Linked DNA regions of Homo sapiens: region 2 is linked to region 1. The links are contacts of gene promoters, found by promoter capture Hi-C in blood cells and fetal thymus (Javierre and others, 2016). All regions are on one chromosome and are shown on one strand. The core of a region is centred on a gene start or on the middle of the fragment in contact, and the rest is flanking DNA. Distances in the headings are between cores, read along the strand shown. Region 1 holds the start of LTBP2 (latent transforming growth factor beta binding protein 2). Region 2 overlaps AREL1 (apoptosis resistant E3 ubiquitin protein ligase 1).

Region 1 (6,486 bases), core at 3,836-6,335:
GAGGGAGTCGGCACCTCTCTGTACGGCCTGCACCTTCCAAACTGGAGGCTGAGGCTGCGCAGTGCTGGGGTCCCAGCTGCCCAGTGTCTGGAGCAGAACATCCAAGCCCATGAGCGGCTCCCGTCTGGAAGGCTGGGGGCCCAGTCAAACTTTCCTTCAGCGATTCTGCCCTCTGATTAACCAGGAAATGTGTTATTTGTTCTGAGCAGGGGAACAAGCTCTCCTGGGGAGAGGAATTCAGGGCTGGAGGTCCAGTTACTTCCAAGCAAGAAAAATCCCTGGAATTCTTTCAGGAGTCTGGGTCTCAGCAAAGGGGGCCGAAATGTGGCCCTTGTTTTTGGTCCTTATTTACCAAATTAGCTCAGGTTCTGGTAGACCTCTGGCTGCCAACATTATTCCAGTGAGACATGGAAAAGCAGTGAGTTTGCCCTGGGAGTCCAGGAGACTGCTGTCCCTTGCATGGGGCATGTGTCTGGGCAAACCTTTCCCTGCTGGAATCTCTTTATCAACCCTTTAGACTCTCTCTGCCGGGTTTTCCAGAGATGATTTTCCTCTCCAGACCCAAGAGATGGGTGAGTAGGCTTAGCAGCGATCTAATGAGGGAGAAGGCTTTAATCAGGGGGTGGGGAAGTGACACACGGTGAGTCAGCGGCCATGCTGAAACAGCTTCCCTTCTTTCACTGGGCCAAGAGGATTAAGGGTGGCAGAAAGTTCTGATAACTCCACATCTCCAGGTACATGAGCTCCAGGTACATGAACAGTGGGCTGGCAGGCAGGGAAGAGGGCATTTGGGGATATGCCCTAGAGCTCCTTTGGTGGTGATAGTGGTGGGGTGGTTGGAAAGGTCATGATTCAATTGTGAAGAGGGCTCCAGGCTTACAAGCCCGGGGTGGAGGCAAGGCGGTGTAACCTTAAAAGCTTGGGCTCAGGTGGAAAATGATCCAGGTTTGAATCCTGCCTCTGCTATTTATCAGCTGTGCCATCTTGGGCAAGCCAGTAGCCATTGCCAACCTCAGTTTCCTCCTTTGTATGCGTGGAAATCATAATGCCTCCTTTGGTTGGTTAAATCAGCCAATTGATGTAACATGCTTAGTATGGCGTTTGGACTAAAGTAGGCTCTATCGATTTTGGCAGGTTAAAAAAAAAAAGCAAAACTCAAGTGTTTGTGGGATTGGAGATTCTGAAGAGCTGCAATCAGTCCCAGCAGTTAGAGGGTAAGGGAGATATGGGCAGTAAGTAGGTGGCAGGACAGAGTGTGGCGCCGGGATGGGGTAGAAGATGCCAGTCTTTGGAGTAGATGAACTGGGTTATGGTCCCCAGGCGAACAGGGTGGGAACGTCCAAGGACCACTTGTACTCACTGAGGAGTGGAAGGGGCGCCCGATGGTGAGGGAAAGTTGGTCTGCGTGAGGGTTTTGGCGGAGGCGAAGGGTGAGGGATGAATGGGCGGCAGACTTCCAGAAATGCAGACGGAGGAGACGGAGCAGTAATAATGACTTGGACACACAGGAGGAAAAAATAGCTCAGGGACGAAGATGATGCCAAGGTTTCTGGCTTTTGGAGGCCCACGGGGATCTGAGGTGGGTCTTGAGGGATCTAGAGGGGAGCTTCTGAAGGAAGTGGGTAGGTTCCGGGGAGAGGAAGGGAGCCCAGAACTACAGAGGTGGGTGGATATCTGGGCAAGGAGAGGTAAGTGTGGACCTGGGGCTTCCACAGCTGTGAAGGAGCAGCATCCCAGGAACAGAACGCAGCATTCTGGGAACTAAGGGGCATTCATGGTCAAATGCAAGGGGTAGGGTTCAAGGAGATCTTTAGAGCCAGCCCCAAAGGCAGCAAGCACATGAACCTGGATCAGGAGCTGCCACCCAGAACTCAGTTCCTCTCTCTTAAAATGGGTCTAATGATACCAGCCCTCCCCACTTGATGGGATTACTGTGTCCTTCATTCAGTTAGCTATCCATTTCACACATACTTCTTGGCTGTTCTAGGTTCTGCAGAAACAGTGGTGAGCAACGCAGACAAGATATCTGTTGCTTTAGAGCTGTCATTGTGGTTTGGGAAGTCAGACAAGAAATGATTTTATAGGTTGTTGAATAGGACTTTTCCTCTGCTCTTGGAATATCTGCTGAAGCCACAAAGATAGAACAATGAGGGCTAAATATTCTTGCATTCTGAAGAGAAGTACTAGACACCTTACTAAAGGCAGAACAGGTTCAACAGCAATCAAACTACATCCCTCAATTCCAGTCTACAAATGAAAGGGATTGAAGAAAGTCACTGAAGCATAACACTGCTGCATTTGTGGGCAGGGCTGAGATTTCCCCTGAGGGAACTCCCCAACTCAAACCAAATGAAGGGAGCTCCCAGAGAGAACCAGTCATCTGCAAGAAGAGGAGGCTCTGTCCCTATAACTGTCCCCCCACTGATGCTGACTATGTTGCTGGATGTTACAGGCACCTCGGTGCATTAAACTACAGCAAGACAGTTCATGGGAGAACCCAACATATGTCTTTAGGAATTGAGGACGTACATAAATGAAGAGACTTGTGTGCACTTCCTGTCTGGAGAATTCTGATCGTGGAGCCTCGCTGGAGTGGCCTGTGTGGCAAGGTGAGAAGTGGGCAGGGTGAGGAGCGGCCAACCCACCATTGTTTTGCCTGGCATAGGTGGGACAGTCCTATGAGAGACAGAGGATGCAGGGGTCTCCGAGAGGTTGGCCAGAGAGTAATTTGCTATGGCAACTCAGGGTGGAGGTCCTGTAGAGAACCTCCCAAAAACCCACATATGTGCCCATGAAAAAGCCAGCGCTTGGCACCTGCCAACCAAGGGTACCTGTCACATAAGACTTTGCTACTTTTCCTCTAACACCTCTCTCCCAGCCTTGACAAAGAGGAGCCACAGCAGAAAAGGGAGGTCAGGAAAACAGACCACACCCCACTCTCACCACTGCAGGATCTCTAGCAAAGGGACAGGGGAGAGGAGGACTATTAAATGGGATGTGATATTGATTAACTTGGATGAGATTTTGATCTGGACAGGAGCAGACTTTTTGTGTCTGAAAATGGGTCTTAATTATATTAATAGAATAGTTCTCGTGTCTGGTAGGGATGACCTCTCAAGCCAAGGACTCTGCCTGAGATGTCATTAAGGGTGGGAAAGGGAAATTTACCATAATATGGTTGAAGGTAGTAGTGGAGCAGTTTCTGGATAGTCCCTCTTTAGGTTCAGCCCATTAAAAAATTCAGTTACACGAGCAAACAAATCAATAACAAGATGATGTCAACTGTTTTATGAAGATGAAACAGGGTGGTGTGTTAGAGTCATGACTGGGGTGAGGGAGGGCTGCTCTAGATTGGAGGTCAGGGATGGCTACTCCAGGAGCTGATATTTAATCTGAGAGGAGCAGTGATGAGGAACTACCCTCTAACATCCTGGAGAGGAACCTTCCAGTAGAGGGAAGGGGGCATTCACTTGGCTTGTTCAAGGAGCAGAGAGAGGGCCAAGGCAGCACAGTGTGGTGGGTAAGGGAGAGCAAGAGGCCAGATGAAATCAGAGCGGGGGCAGCCAGCTAGGGTTTGTAGGCCAAGGCCAGGGGTCGAGGCTTTATTTCAACAGTAGATATTACCTGGGCTTGTCTTTTGTGTGGTGTGGGAGGTTGTGAACTGGTGCCCACATGCCAGCTCCTTCACTCTGCCTCTCTGGGAAATAGGCTGTACAAATGTGCCAGGGGCAGCCCTGTTGATCCAAGCCTTTAGGCTGTAGGGAGGGAGCATGGGTGAGAATGGTGTGCTGATTACTGGGGACACGCAGACAGCGGCAGTCAGCATTCCCACACCCCTGCCCGCCTCCCTGCTAACACAAGATGTGAATGCACACACTGGGTCAATCGGGGTCACCGAATCCCCCTCTGGGAAATTCCCGAGAGAGTGAAGGGCTGGGTGGGATCCCGGGAATGGATTCAGCCAGAGGCGGGAGGCCTAGATTCCACTCCCCTCTTTCACATGCGCTATCTCCTTGAGTGACTTACTCAAGAGGCTCCGTGTCTTTGCCTCGGTGAAAAAGAGGACCCCTTGGCCGGGCGTGGTGGCTCACGCCTTTAATCCCAGCACTTTGGGAGGCCGAGGCGGGCGGATCACCTGAGGTTGGGAGTTCGAGACCAGCCTGACCAACATGGAGAAACCCCGTCTGTACTAAAAAATAAAATAATATACAAAATTAGTCAGACTTGGTGGCGCATGCCTGTAATCCCAGCTACTAGGGAGGCTGAGGCAGGGGAATCGCTTGAACCCGGGAGGCGGAGGTTGCGGGGAGCTGAGATCGCACCATTGCACTCCAGCCTGGGCAACAAGAGCGAAACTCCGTCTCAAAAAAAAGAAAGAAAGAAAGAAAGAAAAGAAAAAGAAAAAGAAAAAGAGGACCCCTCTTCTACCGGCAGCCATCACCGCGCCAGGCTCAGGCGTGACCCTCACGCCAGTGGAAGGGGATTGAGATCCAGAGCGAAGGCGGCGGCGCCAGGGCATTGCAGCCACGGAGCGCCAGGGCCGCCAGCTCCGCCAGGGGGCGCGCCCGGGACCTCCCTGCGCTCCGCGCGCCGCGCCCCGCCCCGCGCCACCCCCGCTCCGGCCGGCCCTGCGGAGGGCGCCCCCAGCGGCCAGGGCGCAAGCGGAGGGGGCGGCGGCCCTGTTCCCCTACGCGGGCCTCGGCGCCCCTCCCGGCTTCCTTCAGACCTGCAAGGCTGCAGCCTGGGTCCCCCGATCCAAAGACGGTCCCTGAGGCGAGGGGCGGGAGAACGATTCGGGGCAGGTCTGCAGTTCGAACTTGCCCAGAGCAGGAGAAAGGCGGCCCAGTGTCCCGGTCGTGGCAGGCGCCATCTGCCCGACCAGCGCCTGGGTCAGCCCCGCGCCGCCCCCTGCTCCGCACGGGTTAATCCCCCTCGCCGCCCGCTCGCCGCCCGCTGGCTTCCCGGTGCCAAAGTGGGTGTTGCTGGAATTCCTCGCTCCCTCTCCGGTAATGAGGGGGCTGAGCTGTCCCTCCGAGGAGGGGGCCTGGTGTGGATAAAAGAGACGAAAAAGCCGGGGGAGGTTTCCAAAAATAAAACCGTCCGGGTCCCCTTCAGACGGCTGCAGGCACAGGGAGGAGGCGCGAAGGTGCAGCAGCCGTGCGAGCCCAGCTGGAGTAGGAGCGCGGACTCGAGGCTCGGGGCGCGCAGCCCTCGTTCCGCCGAGAGCCGGGCCCCCAGTCGGCCGCTTCAGGGCCCCCTAGACTCAGAGAAGCTGGCCGCCGGGCGGGGCCGGGAGAACAGCCCGCGGGCGTCCAGCGTGCCGACCACAAAGCTCTTCGCGGTGCCCGCGCGCACCACTCTCCAGCCGCCCCGCGCCATGAGGCCGCGGACCAAAGCCCGCAGCCCGGGGCGCGCCCTGCGGAACCCCTGGAGAGGCTTCCTGCCGCTCACCCTGGCTCTCTTCGTGGGCGCGGGTCATGCCCAAAGGGACCCCGTAGGGAGATACGAGCCGGCTGGTGGAGACGCGAATCGACTGCGGCGCCCTGGGGGCAGCTACCCGGCAGCGGCTGCAGCCAAGGTGTACAGTCTGTTCCGGGAGCAGGACGCGCCTGTCGCGGGCTTGCAGCCCGTGGAGCGGGCCCAGCCGGGCTGGGGGAGCCCCAGGAGGCCCACCGAGGCGGAGGCCAGGAGGCCGTCCCGCGCGCAGCAGTCGCGGCGTGTCCAGCCACCTGCGCAGACCCGGAGAAGCACTCCCCTGGGCCAGCAGCAACCAGCACCCCGGACCCGGGCCGCGCCGGCTCTCCCACGCCTGGGGACCCCACAGCGGTCTGGGGCTGCGCCCCCAACCCCGCCGCGAGGGCGGCTCACGGGGTGAGCATGGGAGAGGGAAGTTTGGAGGGTACAGAGGGGAGCCAGGGCTCATTTGTGGAGGGGCGTGCAGGCGAGAGGAGAGGGCGCCGCTCTCATACCCTCGTCCCTCTGTCTTTAGTACTTCGGGAAACAGCCCCGAGGTTCCAAAATCGGGATTGGAAGATTTGATCCGCTTTCGAAGAGTTGAAGGCAGATAGATCATCATCCTCATCCTTTCTTACCAACTCTCCCGGAGCCCCGACGTTAAATCCTTTCGCAAGGCGCCTCTCCACTCGCCCGCGTTCCTCCTGCCTGCAACTAACGAGCTCTTGTAGACTCTTGCAGCGCTGCCGGGATCTGAGAGGCAGCGGGGAGAGGGCAGGAGGGTGGGCGCTCCAGGCTCTTGACGCCCAGGGGAGGTTGAGCTGGCTCAGAGCGCGGGTTGGCGGAGGTGTCGGGGGCCCCATGGAGAGAAGGTAGATGCGTCTCCAGGAGGGGAGCCGGCAGCGAAGCTGGTGCGTCGGGACAAGTGTCGTGGGGCGTGGGTCGGCCTGCGCACGCTGAGGGCTGGATGCGGGCGTGGGCGTGAGCTCTGGGTACTTTGGGCGGGAAGCGTGTCCTGATGAGGCTGCGACA
Region 2 (7,161 bases), core at 1,821-4,320, 96 kb before region 1:
GGGATGTTATCAGGACTTATGTTTATTCATAGTTAACATGCGAGGTCCCTAGAAGAGTGTAAACCAGACTACTCAGAGTGTTTTCTGTTGTTACCATTGTGTGTCTTCCAACTTGAGGATGTGTGGCAGGGTTGGAATTTTATGCCAATTTTATTTTATTTTATTTTATTTTATTTTTGAGACAGAGCCTCCCTCTGCTGCCCAGGTTGGAGTGCAGTGGCGCAATCTCGGCTCACAGCAACCTCCCCCTCCCAGGTTCAAGCAATTCTCCTGCCTCAGCCTCCCGAGTAGCTGGGACTGCAGGCATGTGTGTGCCACCATACCTTGCTAATTTTTGTATTTTTAATAGAGATGGGTTTCACCATGTTGGCAAGGCTGGTCTCAAACTCCTGACCTCAGGTGATCTGCCCACCTCGGCCTCCCAAAGTTCTGGGATTACAGACGTGAGCCACTGTGCCAAGCCCCAATTTTTTTTTTTTTTTTTTGAGACGGAGTTAGTTTCGCTCTTGTTACCCAGGCTGGAGTGCAATGGCGCAATCTCGGCTCACTGCAACCTCCACCTCCCAGGTTTAAGCGATTCTCCTGCCTCAGCCTCCTGAGTAGCTGGGATTACAGGCGTGCGCCAACACGCCTGGCTGATTTTATATTTTTAGTAGAGACGGGGTTTCTCCATGTTGGTCAGACTGGTCTTGAACTCCCGACCTCAGGTGATCCGCCCACCTTGGCCTCCCAAAGTGCTGGGATTACAGGCGTGAGCCACCGTGCCTGGCACCAGCCCAATTTTATTTTAACATAGTTGCACTGGAACTTGAACGTGTTCATAAACCTCAAAACATTAAGTTTTCAGGTCCTGGGATGCTCAATCGCAGGGTGATTTCTTCTGTTGATTTGGGTGTAAACTTTTTCTGCTTCTCCTTTCTCTTTCAGGCACACATTCATTTAGATGGCTTAATAGTTTACATATCTGTGGGCACTGAATTTTTGATGTAGAAATGGTAGCTACAGATACTGTATGTGCCTTCTGCTTTACCCCATTTGTGGTCACTAGAAGTTCCTAATCTTTCTGGAGCAGCTTGTCTCTGTCAAGCTGCCATTCATGTGTAGAGCTAATAGCAACCAGTTTTTTGATGTATCTCTTGGTGATTAGACAATAAGCTTTTTATTGTCTAAAAGCTAAAATAACATGGTCAGTTATTCTTCTTAAACATTTGACTCATTAGTATTATATATAGGTTCAGAGGGAAAATTGCATATCATTAAATAGTAATTTGCATTTAAATTTAGGCACTGACAGAAAAACGCTCTTCTGGTAATGTGTACTTTGAATTTTGGAATCCATGAACAACAACAACTTAAAAAAAGGCCATTTGTAATTTCTATTGTAACCTCTATTGAGAGTGTTCTGATTTCCTTGATTGTTAATACCTAATAGGGAGCTAAATTAGTGTAGGAACACCATGGGGGATAAGAACATACTTAGAAAAATTTGTTTTTGTTGCATTGTAATTTTATTGCAATCTGAGGTTCTTATAGCGTGAAATGAAAGTGGTCAGATACTCTACAGCATTCTTTGATGGGGATGGAAAGTGGGGGATGCGAAGCTGGGAGGTAGTGTTGATTTGTGATGGATGGGAGCAGAAAGTAATTGCTTTTGGGCACATACTTGTGAGGAAAAGAAATGATTTTAGTCCTTCTCAGCAGTCAAGAGGGTTGTTTTGCATTTTTCTGCAGTCTTGAAGAGAAAAAATCACCCAAGGCATTGGACACACAGTTTGAACACATAATTGGGCTTGGACTTCATTCCATTCACTAATTGGTCTAACTTACTAATTTAAGTTGGTATCAAATTTCTTTGTAAAATTATTCTGGATAATGAAAGACTCCTTAAAGAACATCTTGTATTTCAATGTTAGAAAGTTATAAGTAGATTCACTTTTTTGTCCATTTTCAAGTTATAGTTTTTACATTTATTTTTCTGACTTACATGATAGGACTTTTTTTCTCCCAACAAACATTAGTCGCTGTTAATTATTTTTCAATTAACTTGCCTGCCCCTAAATGTGGTAGCATGGCATACAGCATGTTCTGCTTCTGAGGTCTTGATATTGAATTGGTTTGTAAGAATACCTCAGAGATAGATTACTGCCGCTTGGTCATTCATTCAGAAAGCATTTATTGAGGGCCCATTCTGTCCTGGGCAATCTCACCACAGTCCTGTATTACAGAAAGACTTGTAAATAGGTAAAGTATGGTTGGTGGCTGAATAGAGATGTGGGAGTTGAAATATTTTAGAGGAATTACTCTTCTTGTTCATCTTTCTGTAAGTGGTCCAGGTCAGAGTACTGTTGTGTAATATTTATTTAATACTATCAACATATTAGTACCATGTAATAGATCAGATTTTATGACCTTAATGGACTCTAGTGTATCATTTTACCTTTTATTTATTATTTATTAGATCTTGCTATGTTGCCCAGGCTGATCTTGAACTCCTGGCCTCAAGCCATCCTCCCACCTCAGCTTCCTGAGTAGCTGGGAGAAGAGGCATGAGCCACTGTGCCTGACCGTTTTACCTTTTAAATGACTTTAGCTATTAACTAACTTGGGTTTAAATTTCAGTTATTTTTCTTTGGTTTCTTTTTCTTTGAAGGGTTCTGAATGCTTAGCCTTCACTAATGTTCTTTCATATAGTAGTTTTCAAACTTTTGAGGTTGTTTAACCTTATTGCAGTTTGTGTGTATGTATGTGTGTGTACACACACGCATGCCTGAGCTGTTGATATGGTGTTACAGCACCATAGTGATGTTTTCCTGGTGGCTCTTTTGAAGACTGTTCTACAAGATAGGGTTTATAGAGAAAGATGGGTATTCACTTAGCTATTAGAAACTAAATAGTCATGGTAGATACATGTTTTGTCATTTAGTCTAATTGAACGGTTCCATATGATTTTATGAGTTTTTGTTATCTTGAATAGTTGAGCAATTTGCATCATGTTTTTCAGAGCGAAGGCATTTATTTCAGTGCAGCTTGTTACTGTTGAGATGCCAATAGTTAACATCTGTTAATTGATTTTCTATATATTGTACTTTTTGGCCAGAGATTAGATAATTTATTAATATACAACATATTTTCTGTAATGTCCCCTTGCTTTTATCCAGAGACCCAGAGCATGTTATTTTAACCCCTCTCTTGTCCGCTTTGGGAAGTTCAAATTCAAGGTACCCCCGGTATATATGGTAAACCTATTAGGAACAGAAAACAGTTAAAACTTCCCAAGTGTGATCTAGTTTTTCATGTCTTGGTAAAGAAGAAATCCCAGGTGGGCTGTGCAAACAGTTCATAGAAAGGGGTTAAAAAAGATATTTAAAAAGTTTTAGGCTGGCATTACCTGAATTGGGGCAATGATTAGGGAGACATGATTAGAATTCTAAGGGGGAGTGAGAATGTAAAGGGGAGCACCATCTGTAATTAAATTGTTTTAAATTGTGGAATAATTTTAAATTTATAAAAAAGTTGCAAAGATAGTACAGAGTATTCCTGTATACCTTTCACCGGTGTCTCCTAATGTTAACTTCTTACATAACCATGGCACATACTGTCACATCTAAGAAATTAACATTGGTACAATACTATTACTAAACTATAGACTTTATTTGGATTTCACAAGTTTCTCCACTAATTTCCTTTTTCTATACCCAAACTGAATCTAGAATACCACATTCCAGTTAGATCATGTGTAATTTCTTTTTTTTTTTTTTTTTCTGAGGCGAAGGTCTCACTCTGTCGCCCAGGCTGGAGTGCAGTGGCGCCATCTCGGCTCACTGCAAGCTCCGCCTCCCGGGTTCACGCCATTCTCCCGCCTCAGCCTCCCAAGTAGCTGGGACTATAGGCGCCCGCCACCATACCCGTCTAATTTTTTTTTTTTTTTGAGACGAATCTCACTCTGTCGCCCAGGCTGGAGTGCAGTGGCGCGATCTCGGCTCACTGCAAGCTCCGCCTCCTGGGTTCACACCTTTCTCCTGCCTCAGCCTCCCAAGTAGCTGGGACTACAGGCGCCCACCACCACACCCAGCTAATTTTTTGTATTTTTAGTAGAGACGGGGTTTCACATGTTAGCCAGGAAGGTCTCGATCTCCTGACCTTGTGACCCACCTGCCTGGGCCTCCCAAAGTGCTGGGATTACAGGTGTGAGCCACTGTGCCCGGCCATTTTTTGTATTTTTAGTAGAGATGGGATTTCACCATTTTAGCCAGGGTGGTCTCGATCTCCTGACCTCGTAATCCGCCCACCTTGGCCTCCCAAAGTGCTGGGATTACCGGTGTGATCCACTGTGCCCGGCCTCTTTTTTTTTTAAAATGGAGTTTCGCTCTTGTCACCCAGGCTGGAGTGCAATGGCACCATTTTGGCTCACTGCCACTTCTGCCTCCTGGGTTCAAACTATTCTCCGGCCTCAGCCTCCCGAGTAGCTGGGATTACAGGCGCCTGCCACCACGCCTGGCTAATTTTTGTATTTTTAGTAGAGATGGGATTTCACCATGTTGGCCAGGCTGGTCTCGAAATTCTGACCTCAGGTGATCTGCCCGCCTCGGCCTCCCAAAGTGCTGGGATTATAGGCATGAGTCACTGTGCCCGACCAGATCGTGTATAATTTTGATAAATAAGTTGGTATTTCCAGTGAGTGCTTTTTCTGTGCTATGTATGTGGTCCAAGAATCCCCTCTGACGAGTGTTGAAGAGAGTCATTGACCCTGAGAATAAGTAATACTTCATAGGTAGTGTTTTGTATTCCTTGACCCCCAAAGCATTGTTAACTCTATGGAAGAGTTGACTTTGCTTCCAGGAGGGTGATGTGAACTTTCCTGAGAAGCTAAGAGCTGATCTTGATTAAGGTATCCATCCATACCCTCTATGCTCACCTCATAGATTTTACTACACGGAAGTATAACTACGTAATTATTTATTTGTCTGTCTTCTTTACTAAGCTTTTATGTTTCTAAAGTGTTGAGAATATTTTACTCATTCTGGAATCTTTAGGGTCCAACATATTGCTTGGCATGTGGTCGCTTCTTAATATGCATTTGAAGAAATTAATAGACCTTTCTTTGGTAAAACTGATTATTAGGTCAACAGAAATTTTGTTTTGAATAGGTAAGTGTTGAGTTTCTCCTTCAAATCCAGCTATCTTAGGGTGCCATTTCTGTGGCTAGTTGAGTTTTTCTTCTTGGAATCTTAACTACAAAATGCTCATTTAATTAACATTGTTTTTCCTTTCAATTATATAAATAATTTATTTTCCTTAAAAATAAGCACAGAATTGAAAGTAATGGATGGTAGTAGAGGCAGAGTTAGCTTTTAAGTATACGTGTGACCATTCCAGTTCCACCCGACTGGGCTGCAGATCTGGCTGTGTGCCTGCCACTTCAGGCGCAGTTAATGGAATAATAGCTTCCTAGACTTATTGAGGGAGACGGCTTGTCAGGTTCAAAGAATTACTTTTAAAATCTTCCTGTTATAGCCAAGATTCAGTGGTCCAAAGTCACCTAAGCATAAAAGCTGCCATGAGATGGGAACATGGGGGCCTGTCCTCTGTGGCTCAGGCATAGCAGAGTCAGTTTTGTATATAGAAAACACATCAAGATAGGAGGGAAGAGGAAACTGAAGCTAGTATTTTCTAGATTTAGGGTTAAGAATGGGACAGTGACATGGATGAGCCAGTTTTCTCTTTTGTTTTTCTCCCCATGAGGTTACAAAATGAGCAATGGTAAATTCTCACTTCTTGTTTTCCCTGTTATACTCAACATTAGCTTTGAATCCCTTTTTCCTGCTTTCTCTAAACTGTGCTGAGAATGAATGGCAAACAACTCCAGGGACAGCTGAATCTAAGCTATGCCTTTGTGTATACTATACAAAAAGAAATACGGGTCTGAAGAACTCTGGCTTGTTTTAGAGAGAATGGTGCAATAGAGAGAATCCAAACTGAATTAAGAAATGCAGAATTACTTTTGTCTTGGTTAGCTTAACCTTTATAAGCCTAAATTTTAATTTAACCAGTGAGTGATTATAGGACAACATTTTCCAGTCTCATCACAGGTTAGAGTGACTCAGTAAGGTGGGCATGATCTTATAAAAGACTCTCGTTAAAGCCAGAAGGGTAACTAGTTTATTGTCCCTGGCTTAACTTCAAGGTGCATGTTCTGGGTTGTGGAATTTAGTTGTTGTTTTAAGAACCAGTATCAGGGGTGCAGAGGTCTTATGTGGATTTGGAGAGAAGTGAGGGACTAAAACCTTGGCTAAACTTAAGCATTCCATTTACTAGATTGAAGAGAGGAAAAATCTGTTAAAATATTAAAATCTTTCCAAATTCAGAAATAGACTATAACTGGGGCCAGGCATGGTGGCTCACGCCTGTAATCCCAGCACTTAGGGAGGCTGAGGTGGGCGAATCACCTGAGGTCGGGAGTTCGAGACCAGCCTGACCAACATGGAGAAACCCCGTCTCTACTAAAAATACAAAATTAGCTGGGCGTGGTGACGCATGCCTATAATCCCAGCTACTTGGGAGGCCGAGGCAGGAGAATCGCTTGAACCTGGAAGGTGGAGGTTGCGGTGAGCCGAGATGGTGCCATTGCACTCCAGCCTGGGCAACAAGAGCGAAACTCCGTCTCAAAAAAAAAAAAACAACAGAAGACTGTAACTTAAATAGTGCATGGTAATGTGCAGCATTGAATTTGAAAGAAACAAGGGGAATAAAACTTAATGACTATGAGATAAATGGAATGCAGGAGTTTTAAAAAGTTCTTGTTAAAAAATTTGACGAGAGGATTTTCTCTTGTGAAACGTTTAGATAACCCTCTAGAAAAAAACCAGGAGAAAATCTTTGTGACCTTGAGCTAGGCAGAGTTTTAAAAAATAGAACACAAAAACCACAAACTATGAAGAAAAAATTTATGTTGGCTTTCATCAAAGTTAGAAACTTGTACTCTTTAAAAAGTGTATTTTCTGTTAAGAAAATGAAGAGGCAAGCCACAGAAAATATTTGCAAAATGTTTATCTAATAAAGGACTTATATTTATGTGAAAGGAAAATAAGTCTTGGGGCCCCCAAATCACTAAGCTAAAGGGAAAAGTAAAGCTGGGAACTGCTTAGGGCAAATCTGTGTCTC

What was found. The method cuts DNA at HindIII sites, captures the fragments that hold promoters and counts their contacts. A CHiCAGO score of 5 or more calls a contact.
Region 2: a contact is called between a fragment that was not itself captured here and the fragment with the promoter of LTBP2 in region 1, in 2 of 17 cell types (endothelial precursors and total CD8 T cells). The highest score is 5.3, in endothelial precursors.

The regions. Positions count from the first base shown.
Region 1 is chr14:74,610,836-74,617,321 of GRCh38, reverse strand. It overlaps LTBP2 (latent transforming growth factor beta binding protein 2), which reads left to right and starts at 5,085. Exons shown (of 36, transcript NM_000428.3): 1 at 5,085-5,871. The coding sequence starts at 5,378. LOC101928352 (a long non-coding RNA gene) reads right to left here and starts at 4,137. Exons shown (of 2, transcript XR_944029.4): 1 at 4,027-4,137; 2 at 3,274-3,755. RefSeq lists a silencer at 4,455-4,774 and an enhancer at 4,402-5,029. The HindIII fragment of the contact is 11,176 bases long and covers 921-6,486 here.
Region 2 is chr14:74,704,560-74,711,720 of GRCh38, reverse strand. The region is part of intron 1 of AREL1 (apoptosis resistant E3 ubiquitin protein ligase 1); the gene reads left to right. Among named protein-coding and RNA genes, the nearest start is that of AREL1, 4.9 kb to the left of the region's middle. The HindIII fragment of the contact is 3,826 bases long and covers 1,158-4,983 here.